2 separate regions of the Homo sapiens genome follow, and region 2 is linked to region 1. The links are contacts of gene promoters, found by promoter capture Hi-C in human tissues and cell types (Jung and others, 2019). All regions are on one chromosome and are shown on one strand. Each heading gives the region's core, a stretch centred on a gene start or on the middle of the fragment in contact. The rest is flanking DNA. Distances are from core to core; before and after follow the strand shown. Region 1 holds the start of REEP4 (receptor accessory protein 4). Region 2 overlaps CCAR2 (cell cycle and apoptosis regulator 2).

Region 1 (5,891 bases), core at 322-2,821:
CTGTCCGGCTGCATAGCTGCTTTCCCCCACACATGGCTGGACAGGAGCTCTGAGAAACTGCTGCTCATTCCTATGCCCGCCTCCAACAAGCTTCACCCACCAGATCTTCCACAGGCACCCCGATGGCCTGCCCTCTATCTACACCCTCTTGAACAGGGCCCATTCTCTCTCCCTCCCCACTCCACTCAGGATGTGCCACACAGCCTTGCCCCTGGAGGAGGGAGAGGCCAACTGAGACCCTCCCCACCTCACCAAGTCCTATTAAACACACCCAAACCCCCACGCTCACATATTCACGAATGTTCTTGGTCTTCACAGCCTTATAGGAAGCATAAGCTGGACACAGCATCCCAAACACCAGCCTGGAAGAGCAGCCATGGGGAGTGTGAGGGGCACCATGCCCCACTCCCACCTTGCCAAGTGGCCATTTCCCCCCACTGGGGTGCAAGGTGGCAGTACCCGCCCTGTTTTTCTCGCTTGGCTTGTACAACCCGTGCCTGAGTCAGAGCCCTGGAGGCCACCTCCCCACCCTGCTGTTTACAAACATCCCAAGCCTGCCCAGGCCTGCACCGGTGGCCCATGGGTGCATGATGGAGTGAGAGGACAGCCACTCCACGAAGTGGGTGAGAACACCAGACTGTCCCCTCCCATGGGCATGCAATCAGGCCCAGGGTCACCAGACCTGACACTGCTGGGTTGCAGATAGGGCTATGTGAGCCAGATGTTGGCATACTCAAAGGTGAGGAATAGGATGGTGAGTCATGTGACTGCTCAGATGGCAAGCAGGCACCTGGATTCTCCGCCCACAACGTGCCATATCACCTTGTGTTTGCCAAGGGGCAGCAAGGTAGGCCTGTGGCCCTCGGCTCCACGCATCTGTTTGCAGTGTGTGTGGCGTGCGGCAGGGGTCGTTCTCAGCCAACGAGGCTTGGTGGGGCGGGTAGCCTGCGGTGCCCCAGACACCGCGTGCAAGCCCACAGGTCCGTTAACCCTTGCATGGAGTGCTGGAGGGTGGAGCTCAGAAAGTTCCTCCTCCCACTAGACGTCCACAGCTTCCACCACAGGGGCGGGACGGCACCCCGGGGTAGAGGAGGTCTGAGGGCGGCCATACTCACACCACCAGGCGACAGATCATCCAGGACACCATCTTGCCGGCCTTTGGGACGTGGGGAGGACCCCAGGAAGCCGCTCAGAAGGACGTTCACTCAAGGGCTGGGACGGGGGGTGATCAGGGCAGTTGCGGGAAGCAGAGGGGCGATCCGGCTGTCCCTCGGCGGAGGCAGAGCCCGCCGCCCACGGCCTCCGACTGTGCAGTTCAGGGGACCTGGAGAATGGGGAGACCCGAGGCAAAGCGGCCCCGGCGGGGAGGAAGCCGACTTGGGAGCGGGCGCGCCCCGCGGCCGGGGCAGTTACAGCTCCCACCCGCCCTTTCTGCCGCGGAGAACCTGGCGCTCGGCCCTTGCTGCTGGTCCCGCGCTGGAGCGGGTCGCCGCGGTTCCAGCGCGCCGGGCCACCAGCACCGGCCTACAGGGCGGAGTTCGCAACTCACTTGAAAGTTGCACGGAACCGAGTGCTGCCCAACCCCAGGGCTCCGGCTTGCCACGCAGGCGCAGTGTAGCCCCGGAGGGGGCGGGGCGAGGTCAGGGAGGCGAGAGGCCGGCCCCTTAAAGGGGCGATGTGCCGCGGGACTCGCGCGTGGGGCCCACAGTGGAGCCACCTTCCCAATCGGAAAGATTAGCGTGTGGGAAGCTGTAACAAAAAAGCAGGGGGAGTGCGGGGGTCGGCACACAAAGAAAATCTGGACTCCAGAGTTTAAGCGACCCTTCACTGGCTTTTCCCGGTGTCTTTCCCTCTCGCCTCATTTTCCCCTCTGTGAACCGGGTAAAGGCATGAGATGCGGTTGGTGGGGTAGAGGGAAGGATCTCCTCTGCAGGCTCAGTCAGGAGCTGGAAGGAAGCTTGGCTGAGCGCCAGCAAGTCCGGGTCTCACACCAGTGGGTCCAGGAGGGAAAGGGGGGAGGTGTGGGGGGAGAGGGAACCTGAGGGACTTTTTGCCCCACCAGGTTTCAGGGGTTCCCTTCTCTCTGGGATGCCTTTCCAGATCCCTGACTCCGGGGCAGGCTGACCGCGATGATTTGAGGCATTCTGGGTAGAGCTCTCAGCTCCCACACTCCTTCAGCAGAAGTTTGAAATTCCACCTATTCCTCTGAGCCAAGTACACAAATAACCCTGGGCCCTTAATAGTAGTATCAACCATTGCCATTTTGTAATGCACGTTTGCACGCAAGGTCTTAGTCTTTGCAAACTTCTTTTAACCATGTAGGAAATAGGATGCTCAGTGGTGAAAAGTAACTTTCCTGGTATCACCCAGTGGTATTTATTGCTGGCTGGTGGCTACATGCTTGGCTTGATCAGTCTTCTGAGAGATCAGCAGCTGCAGGCTGAGTGGCCCTGCAGAGGGCCATGGAACCGGATAAGTTCCTCTGGGAGGGAGGCAGATGCCAGGAAGAAGGGGGAAGGCTCTAAAAAAGAAGGCAAACGTTGCTGCTTCTACTACTTGCCCTGTGAGGTTTCATTCTTTTTGACATCTTCAGCTTACTGCCTCTGTTGTTCCCTCTGAAAATAGTGTCCCCCCACCTTGCAGAGGGTGGGAGCAAAGCTGTCCGGGCATGTGGGGTGGAAACACAGGCAGTTACTGCTTTTTATTGGAGCCACAGTTAACCCCCACCAGCTATCATAAGGATGGAATAGGTAATCATGGGGCCAGGGAAAGGAGGCTTCTGGGGGATAAATAAACACACGGTGATTATATGGTCTTAATTACTGTCATCAGTTTTATTGGTATTGCTGGGTGTGAGAGCCAGCAGTGAAACCAGCCCACAGGAGAAACTTCCCCGAGGCCCCATGTCTCCCTCTCCTCTCTTAACCAACCCTCACATTTACCTGTCCCCCCTTACACACACACATTGGAGTAACCAAAAAGGCCAAGGGCTAGAGGAACTCCTAAGGAAGGCCCCAGCCACTGTCCATCTTTAGGCACAGACATGGTTCTCTAGGTGAAAAGTGTCCTGGGTCTCCCTGAAGGAGGAAAGCTGTGACTGAATAGGGGAGCAGCTGAAAGGGACATCCATGACTCAGGAGGTCACTGCACACGTGAGCCTCGGGTCCTTTGGTGCGTGCTGCAGAACTGTCCCTTCCCTGCTGGCTGCCTTCTGGGGCCACGCACCTGACCTCAGCATCACAGGCCTCTGTCTACCCCCATTTGCTGGGAAACATTACCTGGGCCCGCCCAAAGCTCATTCAGCTGGGATGGTCTCCCGTATGGAGACTCCTGGTCCCAATGCCTGTGCTTGGGAAATCTCAGAGAAGAGATGTCAGAGGTCTGCGCTGACAGCAAGGCTCAGCACGGAGGGCAAGAGGCTGGCAGCTGAGGAGTGTCACCATCCCTGGTCTTGGCAGAGTGAGTAGACCTTGCCTCTTGCAGCCTTTGGTCCTGAGCTGTTGACACAGTCACCCAATTCCACTGGGTTGCTAAGCAGCACTCTGGACGTGGACAAGCCCCAGGGCAAGTGACCCAGCAGGCACACACAGAAAGCCAGGCACTCGGGCCAAGGGAGGAAAGTGCCTCCCACCCCTCAGAAGAGCTCCCCCCTGGGGGCAGCAGCTGTCAAAGTGATATTTATCTTTCTACTGGGCAGCAGAGTGCCAGCGTGTCTGGGAGACTCAACCCACTTTCCCTGGCAACCTCTCCCAAGCACAGGATAAGGGCCCGTTTCCCATTTGGAAAAGAAGGACAGGCCTCCCCAGAATGATGGAGGTGCCTGCTAAGCTAAGAGCATATTTGAGGAGGTGAAAAGCAGGTAAGTCACCTATTGCTGGGGGTGAGGAGGCCAGGTCAGAGGCTGCAGGTAAGATATGGGGCACAGGGGCTCCAAGACTGAGGATGGGTGAGGAACCATCACCCACAGACAGTTCTCTCCAAAGATCCACCTCCTCCTCTTGCACAAAACACCCCTCTCTGAGCCACTTCTGTTTTCATATATTCCCATAGACCAAGGCAAATCATAATCATGTGCTGGACACACTATACAAATGGACTTACATATACTAATGCATTTCACTCTCATGAGAAATAATCCTGTCAGGGTAGGATGCGGTGGCTCATGCCTGTAGTAATCCCAACACTTTGGGAGGCCGAGGACGGCAGATCATTGAGGTCAGGAGTTCGAGACCAGTCTGGTGAACATGGTGAAACCCATCTCTACTAAAAATATGAAAATTAGTCAGGGGTGGGGGCGTGCTCCTGTAGTCCCAGCTACTTGGAAGGCTGAGGCAGGAGAATTAATTGAACCTAGGAGGCTGAGGTTGCAGTGACTCAAGATCGCACTACTGCACTCCAGCCTAAGCTGGAAAAAACAAACAACAAACCCTGTCAGGTAGGTATCACGATTATACTCATTTTATAAATAAGAAAAACCGAGGCACAAATAGGCTAAGTAACGTGGCTGAATGTTACTAGCTGGTTTCACCCGGCTGGCAGAATCAGGAACCCATGAAGTGGGGTTTTTAAATCTGCTTCACAGAAGGAGAAATTGAAGCTCAGGGAAATCAGCTGACTTGCTTGAAATCTCACACCATGGAAAGGGACTGAGCCAGAATTCACACCCATGTTATCCAGGCTCCAGACCCCACTCCTCTGTGCACAGCTGCTCACAGGTGCTCGCTGAAGAGAGAGAAACGAAGGGTTTTTGTGATATGCGAGAGCTGAGAGGGGCTCTGGAGGACAAATGAAAACCTGGAGACTCAGAGAAGGGATTTGACCTGCCCAGGGTCACACAGCAAGCACCACTGCCCAAGGATCTATCATTTCCCCCGTTTCCATCCCCTGTCCCTTACACTGTCACCAACCCACACAAGGCCACAAAAGGATTTCATTTACTCAAGCCCATGGGGGAAGAGGAGAAAAGGGGTCCCCACAGCTTGACAACACCTGTTTTGCCATTCAGTGTGCTGTCCCCGAGACCCCATTACTTGCACTGACACCCTGAGCACTGTCCCCCACCCGGCCCCCATCTGACTGTCTTAGACTCTCTCGACTCCACTCACAGAGATGTTGAGGGACCCTGACTGCCCACAGGGCTTGGGTGTGTACGGTGGGACCAGGTCACAGGAACCTTCATGGTGGGCAGAGGCTCATGGGTTTGTTGAGCAGGAAGCCAAGGCAGGTTCCTGAGCAGGGGAGGACAGGAGGAAAGTGTGTGTTAGAAAGATCAGACCGATGGCTGAGCGTGGTGGCTCACGTCTGTAATCCCAGCACTTTGGGAGGCCGAGACAGGCGGATCACCTGAGGTTGGGACTTTGAGACTAGCCTGGCCAACATGGTGAAACCCCGTCTCTCCTAAAAATACAAAAATTAACCAGGCGTGGTGGTGGGCACCTGTAGTCCCAGCTACTCAAGAGGCTGAGGCAGGATAATCACTTGAACCTGGGAGGCGGAGATTGTAGTGAGCCAAGACAGGGCCACCTCACTCCAGCCTGGGCTACAAGAGAGAAACTCCATCTTTAAAAAAAAAAAAAAAAAAAGCCAGGCTCAGTGGCTCACGCCTATAATCCCAGCACTTTGGAAGGCTGAGGCCAGCAGATCACCTGAGGTCGGGAGTTCAAGATCAGCCTGACCAACATGGAGAAACCCCGTCTCTATTAAAAATACAAAATTAGCCAGGTGTGGTGGTGCATGACTGTAATCCCAGCTACTCAGGAGGCTGAGGCAGGAGAATTGCTTGAACCTGGGAGGCAGAGGTTGTGGTGAGCCGAGATCGCGCCATTGCACTCCAGCCTGGACAACAAGAGCGAAACTCCATCTCCAAAAAAAAAAAAAAAAATCAGACTGAG
Region 2 (6,379 bases), core at 3,315-5,814, 470 kb after region 1:
GCGTTTGGTCGGCCAGGGAGCTGCCTTCCCACCAGCCGGTCGAGGAAACAACGGGTCGGGCTTCCGGGGAGAGGGCCCACACAGTCTCCTCGCCGGCACCGGCCTCCTCCATTTTTCCGGGCCTTGCGTGGAGGGTTTTGGCGGATGTTTTTGAACGAAGGAATGTCATCGGGGCTCTCTCGAGCCCCTCACCCCGCCAGCTACTCTGGGGGTGGCGTGGCATAGTGAGAGGAGCGCTAAGTTGTTGGGAGGCCTGGGTGTGAGTAGCAGTTTTGTCACTACCTGGTTATGTGGCCCCGGGCAAGTCTCTTGATCTCTCTGAGCATCAGTTTCCTTGTCTGTAAAACAGCATGACAGTATCATGCACCACTAGGTTATTGTCAGGGCAAACTGGAACAATGTAATTTCTTGTTTCATTTCTTTCTTCTCTATATTCTCTCCATCCATTGCTTTCATTCATTCTTATTACCCACCTCCCTGTTTTCCGAAATATCCTTACTTAAGATTCTCCACTTTTCCGGGTATAGATGGAAATTTCCCTTATAAGCTGTTAATTTCTTTCTTTTTGGATTGAAGCCTTTTCCCCACGACTCTGAAAGAGGACAGCGTTCCCAATGTCCCAGTTTAAGCGCCAGCGGATCAACCCGCTTCCAGGGGGACGCAACTTCTCAGGTGATCACTGTTCTCCCTACCTGGCCTCATCCTGGGAAGTATGTGCTCTGGAGTTAGTTTGGGGTTTCCCTGGTGGAGAGCAATTTGCTGCTGATGTTCCTCTGGAAAGCAGGAGATGCCCACAGTGATTGCCAGTGAAGCTCTGTGGAGGAGCTGGCTGGAGCTGTAGCCTTTGGATTTACCACATCCTTTGGTTGACTCGTGCTTAAGGTGGTAGGGGCGGTTCCTGGAGATTGCTTCTCTTTCCCCATAGGCACAGCTTCAACATCTCTTCTGGGCCCTCCTCCTGGTTTGCTCACTCCTCCTGTGGCCACAGAACTGTCCCAGAATGCCAGGCACCTTCAGGTAGGTTCGGCATCCCTTGTAGTAAGTTTCAGCCCTTGGGACTGAATGCATGGAGGCCTGGTGCTCTTTTTCTCTTACATAATAGTGTTTATCATTCCTGATCCCTCTCCTGGTAGTGGGCTAGTATGGGGTTGCCCAGATAGCCTTCAGACTGGGGCATCTTCATTTCTCGCTCCAGGGAAATCTTTAGCTTACGTCTTGGAATTAATGAACTGGAAATCCCAGAAGAAGCTTGTGGGTCAAGAACCAGCTCAAACATGCCCCAACCCCTAATGATGGAGTATGCCCACCACACCTGTACTTCACTCTGTGCGAACTCTTGATGCAGTACGCTGAGCTGGGGCGTGGGTTGAGATGAGACCTTCATGGCAGAGTGTGATTTTGTCCAGTTTCCTCCCTTTTACTTTTCAGCTGTCTCCTTCTCTTACAGGGTGGGGAGAAACAGCGGGTCTTCACTGGTATTGTTACCAGCTTGCATGACTACTTTGGGGTTGTGGATGAAGAGGTCTTTTTTCAGCTAAGGTAGGCTTGAGGTTGGTCCCCTAACGGAAATGCTTATTGGATTCAGTTCTGTCACCATGCTGGTATTGCCCCCACCCGCCTCAAAGCCATTGCTTTGCTGTTTTTGTGCAAGGTGTGGGAAATCTTGATGGGAAAGGCCTCATAGGGGCAGTCAGGGTGGCCTGGCCAGGGTCCCTCTTCTGATGGGGCCTTCTGGCTTGTGTGCTGACAGTGTGGTGAAGGGCCGTCTGCCCCAGCTGGGTGAGAAGGTGCTGGTGAAGGCTGCATACAACCCAGGCCAGGCAGTGCCCTGGAATGCTGTCAAGGTGCAAACGCTCTCCAACCAGGTATTCATATCTCCTTAGCATGTGCATTGGAAAGGGAAGGGATGGAAGCCCCTGTGCCCTGACAGCTGGGCAAAACCCTGACTTTTGTCAGGGGGGTGGGACTGCATCTTTCCAAGGTAGTGAGTGCCTCAACCATGGGGTCCCCTGAATTTCCTGGCTCCTGTTCTGCAGCCCCTACTGAAGTCCCCAGCACCTCCTCTTCTGCATGTAGCAGCCCTGGGCCAGAAGCAAGGGATCCTGGGAGCTCAGCCTCAGTTGATCTTCCAGCCTCACCGGATTCCCCCACTCTTTCCTCAGAAGCGTGAGTACGAGTGGCACTGTTGTTGGGTGTGGCATTATGGGGTAGTTTAGATCAATGGACTTTCAGGTTGCTGCTCTTAGCATAGAGGTGGGTACTTCTATGTACTGGAAGAAAGGTGGGCAATCTGGATAGGTGTTTAGGGTTTTTTTTTTTTTTTTTTTTGATGGAGTCTCGCTCTGTTGCCCAGGCTGGAGTGCAATGACACGATCTCGGCTCATTGCAACCTCTGCCTCCTGGGTTCAAGCAATTCTCCTGCCTCAGCTTCCCCCGTAGCTGGGATTACAGGCGCCCGCCACCATGACCGGCTAATTTTTTTTGAGAGAAAGTCTTGCTCTGTCACCCAGGCTAGAGTACAGTGGCGCGATCTCGGCTCACTGCAAGCTCCGCCTCCTGGGTTCACACCATTCTCCTGCCTCAGCCTCCTGAGTAGCTGGGACTACAGGCACCCACCACCATGCCCGGCTGATTTTTTGTATTTTTAGTGGAGACGGGGTTTCACCATGTTCGCCAGGCTAGTCTTGAACTCCTGACCTCAAGTGATCCATCTGCACTGTCCTCTCAAAGTGCTGGGATTACAGGTGTGAGCTATTGCACCCGGCCGGTTTTTAGGGTTTTTGAGTCACCAGTCATTTCCTTTCTGCAGCTCTGAGTCTCTTCCAAACATCCCACACACTTCACCTGAGCCACCTGAACAGATTTCCTGCCCGGGGCCCTCATGGACGGTTGGATCAGGGCCGAAGGTAAGAGGATGATGTCCCTTTTTTTGGCCACTTGTTGACACTAACATTCTCTTTATTTTATTATTATTTTTTTGTGTTGGCCAGGAAGTGAACCCAGGTCAACTGCTTGGAAGGTGGCTATGCTTACCACTAACATTCTTTGCCTGCAGCTAGATCCTAGTCCCTTTTCTGTGAAGTATGTAGACACAACTGAAATGTGTATAAAAATATTGGAATTTTATACAGTGGTTAAGCAAGCAGGGAGTTGATACAGTTCATCTTTCAAAATGTCATGTTGAGATACTTCTTAAATACTCTTCTGTTTCTAGTCCCTAAGTTGAGATGATAGGAATGGAAACTCTCAATAGTAACATGTCAAAACAACTAGAACACTGCAGTATCTGTTCTCGTTGTTTAAAACGTTTCTTTATAGACACCATACTCATCAGTATGCTGTTAGAAGGTGTATATTGCACTCTGCCTGGGAGTTCAGGCCCCCGTGCCTTGGACACACAGGTAGCTTTCTCAGCCATGTGTGGAGCAAGCATGGCTGATTTGGGCCTTTAGGGTATCCTGGTGATGCTGTGTCATCTGTAGCATTGGGGACCACTAGGAGCATGCTGTCCCGTCTTCTCTCCAGTTCACATGTTCCTTCCTCAGTCTCACTCTCCCTGAGTGTTTTGCTTATACCTCTAAAAGTTAAGCTCCAGAATGATTTGTTTAAGACTCGTTCTAGTTCTGTCTTCATTTTAAACTTGTTATAATGGAGAATTTCACTATATGCAAGGTAAACAGAAAGGTGTGAGGAACCTTATTATACCCATTACCCAGCTTCTTCAAGTATCAGCTACCATTCTTTTTCATCTCTACCTCCATCTATTCACTGCTCCCACTTGATTTTGTTAAGGTAAAAAATTTTAACGTGGAACTTATGTAGATTGAAATGCACAAATCTTGACAGTTTTGACAAATGGGAAATGTTATGTAACCCTTAACCCTTTTTTTTTCTTTTTTTTTTTTTTTTGAGACAAGGGCTTGCTCCGTCACCCAGGCTGGAGTGTGGTGGTGTGATCACGGCTCATTGCAGCCTTGATCTCTCTGGCACAAGCCATCCTCCTGCCTCGGCCTCCGCAGTAGCTGGGACTGCAGGTGTGCACCACCATGCTGGAGTAATTTTTTAAAACGTTTTTTGTAAGGCTGGGTGCGATGGCTTATGCCTATAAATCCCAGTGCTTTGGGAGCCTATCTCTACAAAAAATAAGTAAATATTTATTTATTTTTGTGGGGGTCAGAGAAAGGGTTTTACCATGTTGCCCAGGCTGGTCTCGAACTCCTGGGCTCAAGTCATCTTCCCACCTCAGCCTCCCAAAGCGCTGGGATTACAGGTGTGGGCCACCACGCCCGGCCCATTGTGAATTCTAAGTAGGGGGAAGCTTTGGGATTGTTTGCCATGGGGTTTCCACTGCTTGAAACCCTGTGTCCCATTCTCCATTGTAGACACCATATTCATAAGTATATAAATATATCCAGTCGCTGGTATATATTTTGTGTTTACCCACTCCTCTTGTCCTGTGCATCTTCCTGGTCCTCAGTTTCTAGGGACCTTCTCCCTTTCACAGTGTGTGAGTTTATTAAAGGCTTCATTACAAAATCACAGCAGGTGCCTTCTGAGACGGTGTAGCCTGGGTGAAACTCTGTGACTGCCGTGGACTTTCTGCTTTACGGTTAATTTCAGGCTTTCTCTATCAGTTGCATTTGATTGTCCTGGACGTGCTGAGGCCCATGCAAGGTCTGTTGTATTACTTTGGCCATTATGCTTCAGTGTCACAGCTTCTACAGAAAGGACGTACAGGTTGAGCATCCTAAATCCTTAAACCCAAAGTACTCTCAAATCGAGAACTTTTTGAGTGCTGACATGGCACTCAAAAGGAAATGTTTATTGAGCATTTCAGATTTGGATTTTTGGATTTGGGATGCTCAGCCAGTAGGTATAATGCAAACATTGCAAAATCTGAAAAAAATTCCAAACCCAGGATGCTTCTGGTCCCAAGCATTTCAGATAAGGGATACTCAACCTATACTACCATTGGGAGGGAGATATTATATTACCATTCGTCAGTAGAGAGAATGTGCAGAGTGGGGCCAGGGGTAGTAGGAAGTAGGTCATTCTGGGGCAGCAACTTTTATTTATTTATTTAGTTTCTCAGCTTTTAATTTATGAAGGACTCAGCCACATTAATGTTTTGCATGGAAGCCAAGCTTTATTTTGAATTCCTGGCTTTGGGATGCAGAGAACAATGTCTCCATTGAGCTGCTACTGCTGTGCTGTGGTTTTTAGACAGGTGTACCCAGCTGGGCTCTGCTGCTGCAAGTCCTGAGAGGTCAGCCCCTGGTGCTGCCTTACAACCTCCTGACAATGTACAGGAAGCGGAGGAAAGTGGCCACACAGTGTACAGCGTTGAGTGGACCATAACAGTTTAGCTAGAGGCCGACAGCATTCCTGCGAGCTGGAGAGTTGTCAAAGTGGCTTTGGCATGGGTCTTCTATTAGAAACATGGGCTACTGACATCCCATCGGGGCTAGAGAAGAAGGCCACTTTTGGATGGAGATGCTCATGCACATGGAAGTGACCAAGGCCAACAGAAAAGAGCAGGCATCATGATAAATCTCTTCAGCTTAGTCACTGGGGTGTGAACAGGGAAATGACCCAGGCAGGTCTAAAAGGCAGAACAAGAACCTTCTGGTGAATACAATCAACTCAGTTACCCAGGCACAGAGAAATGGCAGTGGGTTTTATTTCTCTCATGTGACATGGGGGGTTTTCCCCTTATCAGTCTGGCACGTTATAATGAATGGTCTAAAGGTTTTTTCTCCTCAACTATTTTTATTTATTGTACCCATATCTATTGCACTTATAACGTAGTTATAGTGTAATACTGTGGTGACTTATTATAAAAATGTGTAAAGCAGTACATGCTATTATATAAAATTAAAATAATATAAATACATAAAATTAAAATAATATAAATACGTAGGCCAGGCGCGGTGGCTCATGCCTGTAATCCTAGCACTTTGGGAGGCTGAGGCGGGCGGATTACTTGAAGTCAGGAGTTCAAAACCAGCCTGGCCAAGATGGTGAAACCCTGACTCTACTAAAAATACAAAAATTAGCCAGGCATGGCGGTGGGTACCTGTAATCCCAGCTACTCGGGAGGCTGAGGCAGGAGAATTGCTTGAACCCGGGAGGCAGAAGTTGCAGTGAGCTGAGATCACGCCACTGCATTCCTGCCTGGGCAACAGAGCAAGACTCTGTCTCAAAAAAAAAAAAAAAAAAAGTATATATATGTGTGTGTGTGTGTGTATGTGTGTGTATATATGTGTGTATATATGTGTGTGTGTATACATATGTGTGTGTGTATATATATATGTAAAAATATGTGTGGTTTCTACCTTCTTTCTCTTTAAAGGTAACTGTTGTTAACAGGTAGGTATTA

What was found. The method cuts DNA at HindIII sites, captures the fragments that hold promoters and counts their contacts. A contact is called where the count stands out against the background at its distance.
Region 2: a contact is called between a fragment that was not itself captured here and the fragment with the promoter of REEP4 in region 1, in 1 of the 25 tissues and cell types used here (dorsolateral prefrontal cortex).

Annotation. Positions count from the first base shown.
Region 1 is chr8:22,140,336-22,146,226 of GRCh38, forward strand. It overlaps REEP4 (receptor accessory protein 4), which reads right to left and starts at 1,572. Exons shown (of 8, transcript NM_025232.4): 1 at 1,116-1,572; 2 at 290-362. The coding sequence starts at 1,147. RefSeq lists an enhancer at 1-561 and silencers at 1,326-1,475, 1,486-1,615. The HindIII fragment of the contact is 4,498 bases long and covers 1-3,956 here.
Region 2 is chr8:22,605,160-22,611,538 of GRCh38, forward strand. It overlaps CCAR2 (cell cycle and apoptosis regulator 2), which reads left to right. Exons shown (of 21, transcript NM_001393997.1): 2 at 577-672; 3 at 926-1,017; 4 at 1,448-1,539; 5 at 1,751-1,865; 6 at 2,037-2,166; 7 at 2,810-2,906. The coding sequence starts at 615. Among named protein-coding and RNA genes, the nearest start is that of CCAR2, 3.6 kb to the left of the region's middle. RefSeq lists a silencer at 1-15. The HindIII fragment of the contact is 3,562 bases long and covers 2,784-6,345 here.